Regions from separate parts of the Homo sapiens genome. Here region 1 is linked to region 2. Evidence: promoter capture Hi-C in 16 types of primary human blood cells and fetal thymus (Javierre and others, 2016). All regions are on one chromosome and are shown on one strand. The core of a region is centred on a gene start or on the middle of the fragment in contact, and the rest is flanking DNA. Distances in the headings are between cores, read along the strand shown.

Region 1 (6,026 bases), core at 1-2,500, 520 kb before region 2:
CTCTCACTGAACCCCAAGGGGAGCAGTTATCCTGCAGGCCTAGAAGAAGATAGAACCAGGGTTCAGGAAATAACCCTCTCGCCACCCTTAGGAGACCCTGCATTAGGGCCAAAGCTGCCCCATTGCAGAGGCATTCTAGAGAAACCCCTGTCCCCCAAAGGAGTAGACATAAGGGCTGCCAGCGGGTCTGGCTCTGTAGAGAGAACTTCGAGTCTCCTTTCAGTAGGGGAGGAAGGAGAAGGCCCCGCATAAGCACAGAGTGATTCGAGATATGAAGAACTTGATTTCTTGCTTCCCTGGTCCCTGGAGCTTGGTCACTTCACCTTAGACTGCAAATCCAAATTTCACTTTTGAAGTTAAGGAGGAACTCTCAAACTCAAACAGTATATTGAACAAACTCAAGAGTCAGTGCCTCCTTAAATTTTATCTTAGGCTCCACACCTGCCTCATTGCTAGTCTCCACTCTGCCCAGATTTATCCTGCACCCACTTCCTCCTACAGCATTTCCCCAGCAGGCCCAGGAAGTTTCTGCTATGTTGCTGTGGGCTGCACTCAGCATCCTGGTCTGGGGCGCTGGCTCTGTCTTCCTTATTCTGGTCTTCTTCAACTACATGTGCAGCTCTGGCAGAAGTCTCATCCCTGGGACCTCCAGTGCTGCTCCACAGATCTGACTGGGAAAATAGCCATAGTGACTGGGGCCAACAGTGGTGAGTGCTCCTCCCACCCTGAATCCTCACTATGGGCCTCAGCCTCCAACAACTCTCACAGGGAAGGCAGGGAGGAGCATCCACTATCAACACCCTTGTCCCTCCCCTAGAGTGTCCCTTGTTCACTGTAGTCACCACCCAGCCGAAGTTGTCCTCCCACAGGCATCGGGAAGGTTGTATCCCAGGACCTAGCTCGGTGTGGGGCCCAAGTGATCCTTACTTGTCAGAGCAGGGAATGTGGACAGCAAGCCCTGGCTGAGATCCAAGCAGCCTCAAACAGCAACCGCCTCCTGCTTGGCGAGGTGGACCTTAGCTCCATGACCTCTATTCGGAGCTTTGCCCGGAGGCTTCTACAGGAGAATCCTGAGATACATCTGCTGGTAAACAATGCTGGAGTCAGTGGTATGTGCCTGGCTTGCTTCTCCAAACATGTTTCTGCAGTCTCCTTTCTAGCTCAGGAACTCTAAAACAGGTATCCTCAAAGCCTAGTCTATGCAATCTTGCCAAAACACTAATCCATACCCTCCCCTAAAAAGCTGACATTGAGTTATAGCCTTAAACTTCATTGCCCCCATCTTCACATGTATGTGCCCCTGTGGCATTTCTGCTGAAGGTAATATGTCCCTCCCAGACCTTGTCTCCCTCAAGGTGGTCCCTTTATCACTCAATGCCAGTGTTTTCATTTCCTCCCAGGATTCCGAAGACACTTACCCCAGGGGGCCTGGATCTCACCTTTGTCACTAACTATGTTGGGCCCTTTCTGCTCACAAATCTACTCCAAGGTAAGGAAGGATGGGCACCTTCTGTGCTGCCCTCTTCCCTATACCCCTGGCATTCTAGTAACTGTCTCCCAGGACCACCTCTTGCCTCTTGGCACCCAGCTGTTTGCTGAGTGGTGACCCAACACACTTTTTGTGTCACACATCAGGGAAGCCCAGCTGGCACAAGTCAGTATTAGAAGGCTGATAGAAGAATCATTCAGCCCAAAATATAATCAGCAAGGGGATATGAGATCCCAGACCTCCTTCTCCCATCCCCTAGTTCTAGCCAGACCAGTAGAGTAGTTTTTGCAATGAAGGCTTCTTGAGGGGGACACTAGGCACCAGAAACAGAGAAAGCAAGAAGACTCAGTTTCTGTTCTCAGGGTCGGCCAGAGGTGTAGGCCATACAGATGATACAGTTGATACATTACTGCCTTGGGCCTAAGTCCTTTGAAGAGGCCCTTTCTGATTGAGAAAGTTTGGCTCCTCCAGGGAAAGTTTCGGGGAGTGGGTGGCAGGAACATTCTCTCTGACATTTTCTCCTAGATTGTATAATAGCCCCTTTATTATTATTATTATTTTTTAATTACTCATCCCCTTGCAATGTGATAGCCTCCTTAAAAGAAAAGCAATTTTTCTTTTGGTCAGGTAATACATATCCAAAGTACAAAATTGAAAGTGTACAAAAGGATACAGAGGGTTTTTTTTTTTAAACTATTTTTCTCTTCTGGTACATAAGCCACCTGTTCCCCTCCTGAGAGGCAACTACTGTTGCCGGAGTCTCACGTATCCTTTAGCAGTCAACTAAATTAATCCCAATTGGAAAGTGAACAAAGGCAAAACTCTATGCACCTGCAAGTATGATTGTTTTTGTCCCTTTCCACAAATTGTAACATGTCACGACACTATCTGCATCTTGCTTAGTGACAGTTTCTTAAACTTCTTTCCTGTCTCATCTTCTCTAATCTATTCTCCCCACTGCCACATCGAGTAATCACCTTTCATCATGACACTTTCTTGCTTAAAATCCTTTGAAGGTAACCTCTCCTTTGTAGGATGAACTCTAAGCCCCTTCTCTACACTTAGAAGGCTGTGTGCTAGGCTGGGTGCAGTAGCTCATGCCTGTAATCCCAGCACTTTGAGAGGCTGAGGTGGGCAAATCACCTGAGGTTGGGAGTTTGAGACCGGCCTGATCAACATGGAGAAACCCCGTCTCTACTAAAAATACAAAATTAGCTGGGCGTGGTGGTGCATGCCTGTAATCCTAGCTACTCGGGAGGCTGAGGCAGGAGAATTGCTTGAACCCGAGAGGTGGAGGTTTCAGTGAGCCAAGACCGCGCCATTGCACTCCAGCCTGGGCAACAAGAGTGAAACTCTGTCTCAAAAAAAAAAAAAAAACCCTCTGCTGACTAAGAGCCTTGCCTTTTGCCCTTCCTTAACCCACCTCCTAGTCTCCAGCCAGACAATCTGCAGCTCTTGGACCACGGTCTGTTTTTTTTCACCCTCTGGCTGTGTTTTTGCACATACGGTTCCTTCTATCTGGAATATCCTTTCTCATCATGTTGGCCTGGCTAACTTTAGTTCACCTGCCAAGACGCAGCACAGATATCACCTCTGCTGTGGATCTTTCCCCAACCTTCACCTCCCCCAGTCACCCCTATTTATGGGGCTCCATTAGCCCCCTTGTACATATCTCTGTGACTGCACTGATGTTGCTCTGTGAGGATCAGTCTCTCCAACTGAGCAGAGAACACTTTTGGTCTCTATGTCACTGTCTGCAAATTTAAAGTCCATTGTCTTCTTTAAGAATAATTTTCTTTCCAGCAAATTTTGGCTAAATACCACCTGCTCAGTTTCTCATTTGTAATTTGTAATTTTTAAATTTTATTTTGTATTAATTTTTTTTTCTGGGGAGAGAAGGAGCAGTGCTGGAAGCAGTCCATGCAGCAGGCTGGCCTCCCACTGAGTGAGTCTTAATTTCAAAATAGTTTTAGCATTTTAAAAACAATACTGTAAACTCATATGTGACAACAACTATTTTTTATACTTTACATAATCCAGACTTTTTTTTTTTTTTTTTTTTTTTTGGAGACGGAGTTTCGCTCTTGTTTACCAGGTTGGAGTACAGTGGCGCGATCTCGGCTCACTGCAACCTCCGCCTCTTGGGTTCAAGCGATTCTCCTGCTTCACCCTCCCGAGTAGCTGGGATTACAGGTGCCCAACACCATGCCTGGCTAATTTTTTGTATTTTTGCTAGATACGGGGTTTTGCCATGTTGGGCAGGCTGGTCTCAAACTCCTGACCTCAGGCCTCCCACCTTGGCCTCAAACTCTCGCCTTGGCCTCCCAAAGTGCTGGGATTACAGGCATCAGCCACCACACCCAGCCAATCCAGACTTTTTTGTATACTTATTGATATGGTTTGGCTCTGTGTCCCCACCCAAATCTCATCTCCAGCTGTAATCCCCATATGTAGAGGGAGGGACCTGGTGGGAAGTGATTGGGTCATGGGGGCAGTTCCCCCGTGCTGTTCTTGTGATATTGAGAGAGATCTCACAAGATTTGATGGTTTTAAAAGTGGCAGTTTTGACCTGGTGCGGTGGCTCACGCCTGTAATCCCAGCACTTTGGGAGGCCGAGGTGGGTGGATCACGAGGTCAGGAGATGGAGACCATCCTGGCTAACACGGTGAAACCCCGTTTCTACTAAAAATACAAAAAAAAAAATTAGCCAGGCGTGGTGGCGGGCGCTTGTAGTCCCAGCTACTCGGGAGGCTGAGGCAGGAGAATGGCGTGAACCCAGGAGGCGGAGCTTGCAGTGAGCCGAGATCGCGCCACTGCACTCCAGCCTGGGCGACAGAGCAAGACTCCGACTCAAAAAAAATAAAAAATAAAAAATAAATAAAAAGTGGCAGTTTTCCCCTGCCTGCTCTCTGTCTCTTCTGCCACCACGTAAGACATGCCTTGCTTCCCCTTTGTCTTCCACCATGATTATAAGTTTCCCGAGGTCTCCCCAGCCATGCAGAGTTGTGAGTCAATTAAACCACTTTTGTTTATAAATTACCCAGTCTCAGGTAGCATCTTAATAGTGGTGTGAGAACAGACTAAAACACTTATGTACTATTTTAAACATTTTTTTTAAGATTTAACTTTAGGATTTTAATTTTGTTTTTGTTTGAAACATAGTTGGTTTTTTTTTTTTTAAATATTAAGCTTGTTAATAGTTTTCCAGTGATGACCTTCCCTAGCTTTGTTTCTTTAAAAACATTTTCTCAAGTATCTCTGCACACATATTTCTTTTCCCCCAAACCTAGCACCGTTATGTCCTTAGCACCTAGCTTAGTGTCTGCCATATTCCAGGTGCCTAATGAACATTTGTGGGATGGATAAATGAAGGAATGAATGTATGAATACATGAAAGCAACTTTCACAGTGTTTCCAGCTTCTCCTTCCCCTTCTTAGCCATCAGTGAAATAAAACATATAAATGAGGATCAATTAAGGTAGCTCCAACTAGCAAGTAGAAGAAAAGAAAGGCAAAACTCCAAACACTAATATGAAAGAAGAAGAAGATCATTAGGAAGGCAGCTAATAATGAAAATGAGGTCCCAGCTAACATTAAGCTCTCCTATGCCTAGCCCAGGTTTCTGGATAGGGACCCCACTGCCCCTTCTTAGAGAGCCCTGCTCTCCTATCTTCTGGAGAAGCAGGTTGGGGAGTGAGCATGGGAGTTTACTCTAGAACTTGGATTGAAGCAGTGTGGTCCCTCCCATCTCTACCCAGGGGCCCTACGACAGGCAGGGTCAGCCCCAGTGGTGAATGTGTCTTCCGTTCGGCATGCACATGGGTACATTGATGAGGGGCACCTGACAGGCTGGAGGCCCTTTGACCTTTAACCAAAACTATGACTGCAGCAAACTGCTATTGACTTCATTCACTGGAGAGCTTGCCCAGAGACTTCAAGGAAGAGGTAACTGCCTCTGACACCCCTTACTCCACTCCCAGCACCACCTCCCAACCTTTCGCATCTCCTGCCAACATGTCCTGGCCATAAAGTACTCCCAATGTGCCCCAAACCAGCATTTTATTCCACTCCAACTATCATCTTTGTACCCTCTATTTCTCTCAACCCTGTATTCACATCATTTCAACCTTTTCCCACTCTTTTCATCTCCCACAATATTTCTTTCCTGCTGGTGTTTTCCAATACCAGCATCGTCCACCATGTTCCTCCTACAGTTCACCCAACACTTCCAATACCCATCCTTCCTTACTGGCTTGGGTACCATTAAGGTAAGCTACAGAGCACCAGTGTCCCCTGCACCACCCTCAAGTCACTGGTCAACACTACCCAACAGACTTGGTAGGATTTGCACGCTGCTGAACTACACTTAACCCCTTTTATCGGTCATCCTCCTCTCTCTTCACTTTGCACTCTCCTTGTGTCTCACCTTCTTAGGAATGACTGTGAATGCTGTGGAGCCCGGTGTTGTATACATGGGGATTATGAGGCATTTCTCTTAGCCATAATGCTTCCTCTTCTAGCTTGTCAGCTTCTTCAT
Region 2 (5,500 bases), core at 1,523-4,022:
TAATCTCTCTTACTCTTCTCCATCAAAACTTGCTCCCAGGATGAAGCCTGTCATATTGAAAGGAATTGAATGATCCATTTCACACATCAATGACTATTGAAAGTTGAATTTATGTCAGTTCTCAAAGACATTTTCATTTTGACAGAAAGTGTTAGGCCTAAACGGAGGGCCTCTGCGATGATGAGATTTCAAACAATAGTTGGCGACAGGTTTTTGGGTGAGAGCTTCAAGTGACATGTAAGCAGCTGCGTCTCTGCCTTTTATTATTTGCCTACACGTATATACAAACCATCAGAAACCCTGGCAGAGAGAAATTGTCTATGAAAAACACTGCCACGATGGAAAATTCTAACAGCACCTCTAATTAACTTCAGGATATCTTCACTAGGTTCTATATATACATGAGTTCAATTAAAAACAACTCTGCTGAGTAATATTTTGGATCCTCCACAATCTGTCGTGGGTGCCTTATCTTCTGGCTCTTACCCGGACTTCCATTCACTCCCCTGGCTCTGCTCCTGTCCAGACCCCTCTCTTGAGCTCTAGGCCTGCAGAGCCTGCCGTGCATCTCCCCCACCAAAACCCCCCTGGCACCCCAACTCCACACCTCCAGGACTGCTCTCCTCATCAGCAGCCTCTGCCCGGAGCTGCCCTCACAGACTCACACCACCCACCCTGAGCCCATGCCCAATGCCCTGGTGCCGCCCTCTTCCCTCCCAACCTATCACCAGCCCTTCTTACTTCTACCTGCACGGCACCCATGCCACCAGCTCAGGACCACCGCATGCTGCAGTAGCGCTCTTGCCCTGTTCCAGTCCACTCTCCTCACAGCTGCCAAAGCAGCCCCTTCAACAGATACCCTCCAGATTAAAACCCTTCCATGGCTCCCCATAGCCTGATCCTTTAGAGTCTAAAGCCCTTGTAATCCAGCCCTGCGGACCCCTCTGAATTTAGTTTTACCTGATTCCTGCCTTGCTATCTAAATTCAGTGGAATTGAGCCACTTGAGTCCCAAAGACCATGCTTCCTCTTTACCAGGAAGGACCAAGCTTGGTCCTTACTTCAGGACCAAGCTCAGGCACCTCTTCCTCCAGGAAGTCTTCCCTGATAACTCCTGGGTTGAGTGATGGGCTCCTCCTGGCCTTTACCCCTTTCGTGTACTTATTTGCTCCATGGTTCTCATCTGTTTATCTGTCTCTTCCAGTAACTGCAGAAGCCTCTCCACTGTCCCTAAGGAGCAGAGACAGTGCCTGGCCCATAATAAGTGCTCAATAAATGTTGGCAGAATGAACAAGGGGAAAGAGGAAAGATATCTCGCCCCAAGGTCATGATGTCACACGGCCCATCCCCTTTTCTCAGGCCTGGCATGTAGGATCTTACTGTTCATTGCAGTTTCTCCAGCACCCATCCCTCTCTGTCACAGGAAGCTCTTCCTCTTTTCAGCCCAAGGGTTAGTATCAGAGTCCAAACCCACATTCAAGTAATCAAAGTGAGCACTTAGAGCCTCCCTGTACAAAGTGTGGTCCCAGACCAGCAGCTTCAGTGTCGCCTGGGAGCTTGTTAGGAATTCCAAGTATCAGGCCATATCTCGGCCTACTGGAATCAGAATCTGGGGTGGGGCATGGGGCAATCTGTGTTTTAACAAGCACTCCAGGTGATTCTTAAAGTTTGAGAACTCAGGGCCGGGCCCTGACAGCCTTGAGCTGAGTGCTGTATATACGCATTCTCTCGTTTAATCCTCACACCATCGCCAAGTAGATATTATTATTCTTGCCCCCATTTTACAGGTGAGGAAGCTGAGGTCGCTCAGTAACTTGGTTAGCCTGACAGTCTGCCTTCAAGGCCTGCACTGCCACACCCAGCCTGCCTCACCTGTGAAGAGATGCTAGTGAATTCTGATGCCAAACATAGAAGTGGCCCCTTCATCTCATCTTCCTCTTAATTCTTTGTGCATGTGTTGTGTGTGTGTTGGGTGGGTTGGGGGGAGTAATGACATCTGCAAATGGGTCACAGTTGGGTGTGAGTCTTTTGGATGAGTGGCTGTACGTCTCTAGGCCTCAATGTCCTCATCAGAGGAGAATGAACTAGATGGGTCCCAAGTTCCTTCTACCCTGAAACCTCACGATGCCACAGGGCAAGTGGAATTTTCTCCATCCCCCAATGATCCTAGAGCCTTCAAGGACTGCAGAAACCCTCCATTCTCCTCAGCCAAGCACAGATCAGAGGACAGAGAGACCCACAGGGGACCTGAAGAAAATACCCTCCCATTCCCAGCACAGACATTTCATGGACTAAACAGCTCACAGACACCAGGACCACTGTTGGCTTTGACTCAAGTATTCTGAAAAGCTGCTTTTCTGCAAAGTATATGATCCCCTAAAACAGCCTCCCAGACATTCTAACCCAAGACAAAGGACATCAGGGTGTGGATCTGCACTGGCCCTGGGGAGCAGGGCTAGTAGAGACTGCAGGCATTATATCCCGCCAGTCCCCATTCTGAGGCAGGGAGCACGGTTCCAAGCTGCCCCTGCCCCAGGATGTCCCATGGCCAGATACGCCTTTTCTCAGCAGGCTGCAGTATGCTTGCAGGTGCCGCTGCCCACCAAGGGCTCTGGTGTGTGATCTGGGCCAGCGTCACAGAAGCCAGGCCAATCTGGAGGCACCTCCCGCACCCAGGAGGCCAGGCAGCCCCGGAAAGGAAGAGGTGGCAAAAGCCGTACAGTACTTACCGAGGGTATGAGAGGTTCTTCTCCCAGTGACTGAGGGCTGGTGTGTCTTTGGCATGAATACCAGAGCAATATAAAACCCCAGAGGCGGATCTTCTTTAAACAAAGTCCCTAAAAAGGCCAGCTGACGGTGTGTTAGCAATATTACCATATAAGGTGGTTTTTTCAATAAATCGCCTTGGGGGTAGGGAAGGGGGGTGGGTAGAGTGAGTTATCATTTGAAAAATGTATGCAAAAGGACTCAGTGGCAACAGCCCCGGTGCTGGTAGATTTGTTCCTTTTATGCTGCACTTGCATAAACAAAACTCACACCAGGCCTTATAAGCTGCCCAGAGTGAGACCAGATGCAGCTGTGCTCCTGGAGTGAGAACCATACCAAGAATGGCAGCGGGCCTCCTCCGTCCACACCTCCCTCCTCAGGCCCTGCTGCATGCGGCCCCTGGGTCTGCCTGGGACGCCCAGGCACTGTCCCCAAAATGGGTGCAATCATGCCTTGTCTGGCACGAGCCTGGGACCAATGAAAGCTGAAGAGAAATGCCTTCCGTACCCAGGAAAGAAATCCTGCGTGCCCTACTCACCTGCTGCACCTTGACACAAGCTCCTAACCCTTGGGCTGAGTTCTCTGAGGGTCTCAGGACACCTTAGGCTTCATTCTCTCTTGGCTCCTTCCTGGTTTTCCTTTAAATATCTCTAAATATCTGCAGACTGAGGGACCTGCTTCAGGGTTGAGGCACACCTAACAAGACTCTTGGCCTGTAGGATTTTCCACAGTCCTGTGATTCTTGAGCTGCTTCTTTTTCTTTTTTGAGATAGAGTCTCGCCCTATCCCCCAGGCTGGAGTGCATTGGTGCAATCTCGGCTCACTGCAACCTCCGCCTCCCAGGTTCAAACAATTCTCCTGCCTTAGCCTCCTGAGTAGCTGAGATTACAGGCACCTGCCACCATGCCCAGCTAATTTTTGTATTTTTAGTAGAGACAGGGTTTCACCATGTTGGCCAGGCTGGTCTCGAGCTCCTGACCTCGTGATCCACCTGCCTTGGCCTACAGGTGTGAGCCACTACGCCTGGACTTCTTTTTGTTTGTTTGTTTTGTTTTTAATTAGACAGGGTCTCGATCTTGAACTCCTGGATTCAAGCAATCCCTCCACCTTGGTCTCCCAAAGTGCTGGGATTACAGGTGTGAGCCACCATGGCTGGCTGATGATTGCTCTTCTTTGTGTAATTCATGTACTATCCCTAGGTAGCTGGTTCATTTCCCACATTATCAGCTACCAGCTCTGCAGTATTACTTTCAACTCCACATTCTCATGGTCCCCCTCCCTCACCCTGATCCAGACTAAAATGATCAATTGCCTATTGGACATCCCAATCCAGATGACTCTCCAGCTCTTCAAACTCATCCTGTCTAAAACTGAACCCTTCTTCCCTACCCTCAAAGCTGCTGTGCCTCCTGGGTTGCCAACTTCCAAGTCCACCCCTCGGCCCTTCAAGCTAGAAGTCAGTCAGTCTAGAACCCTGTGTCTCCCTCATGCTCCCACAACCACCTGGGCACCACAGCCTGGTGCTCCCCCGACCAGAAATGCCCCTCAGCTCTGTGTCCTCCCTCAATCCCTGCTGGCCTGCGCTGCCTCAGGCTCCAGTCCTATCTGGCCTGGAGTGGGGCGCAGCTTCCTGACTGGCCTTCCTGACTCTGCTTCGTCTTCAACACAGAGGTTCCCAAAGCATGGGGACCACCAGAGTGCAGCAGCAGCATGATATGGGAATGTGCTCACAATGCAGATTCTCAGGTGTCACCTAGCCCTATTGAAACAGAAACTCAGTGAATAGGCCTCAGCCATCTGTGTTTCTTAAACTTTCCCCACCCGGTGCCCAGGATACCCCCGCTTCAATAGAAGAAGCATGCATTGCATCCCTGCTAAACGCACAGGGAGTTCCAGGTGGTTTTGGGTCACCTGGTGCAATGGCTTGGTACAGGTCTGGCTTCCTCATTAACTGAAAATTGAGGCAGGAGATGGTGTGAATGAGGAGTGTCCTCTGCTGAGACAGCCCAGAGGAAAGATTTAAAAACACTTTCCTTGAGGACCTGCAGTTGTTCCCTGTGGAGAAGGAACACTGTTGTCATTGTGAGGTTCACTTACTCATCATTTGATCACTGGCCTGCGTGTTTAGTGCCTAAGTCTAAATTCCAGGCCTGTGGAAAGCTTCCTGAGCTTTTCAAGTTCCTAGAAAACCCTCACTGGGGATTCTGGAGGGAAGAGGGCTCCCTTTCCGGAGCTGTGCTGCATAGAAGGTGGCAGTGGATGAGGTGTGAGCTGTCCCAGCATGGACAGAGTGCTCGCAGTCCCAACTGGCCGAGGCAGGTAGCTCAACGCTAAGTGACAGGGTCATAAGCTCCCCCTCTGATTCTCTCTTCTTGTGTGGGAATGAGGCCAGGGCAGGGACAGGGTGCCAATCACCCTTGACCTGATCATGGGTTTAGAGGGGTCATCCTTTCCCTTCTCAGAGTAAGGGTTGTTTCACAGAGTGAGCTTTCTTCTAATCACTCAGCACCGTGGTCAGCGTGCAGATGGGGGCACCTTGCCCTATGGACATTCCCCTCTTAGTTGGCACAGCCAGTCGATAAACAATGAAAAGCCTATAACAAAGGCACTGGTTGTGATCTAGGCTCCAAACAGCCCAGAGACGAGAAAGCAGGGACTAACTGAATAAACTGAAGCTCTGAGGAAATGTTTAGGGAGAGATCAGAAGGTGAGGGAGGTTACACCAGGTACTCGAT

What was found. The method cuts DNA at HindIII sites, captures the fragments that hold promoters and counts their contacts. A CHiCAGO score of 5 or more calls a contact.
Region 1: a contact is called between a fragment that was not itself captured here and the fragment with the promoter of ACTG2 in region 2, in 2 of 17 cell types (erythroblasts and activated CD4 T cells). The highest score is 6.8, in erythroblasts.

What each region holds. Positions count from the first base shown.
Region 1 is chr2:74,408,111-74,414,136 of GRCh38, reverse strand. No RefSeq gene overlaps it. Among named protein-coding and RNA genes, the nearest start is that of C2orf81, 10 kb to the left of the region's middle. The HindIII fragment of the contact is 6,860 bases long and covers 1-4,680 here.
Region 2 is chr2:73,890,280-73,895,779 of GRCh38, reverse strand. ACTG2 (actin gamma 2, smooth muscle) reads right to left here and starts at 2,772. Exons shown (of 9, transcript NM_001615.4): 1 at 2,729-2,772. RefSeq lists an enhancer at 2,883-3,696. The HindIII fragment of the contact is 3,877 bases long and covers 1,051-4,927 here.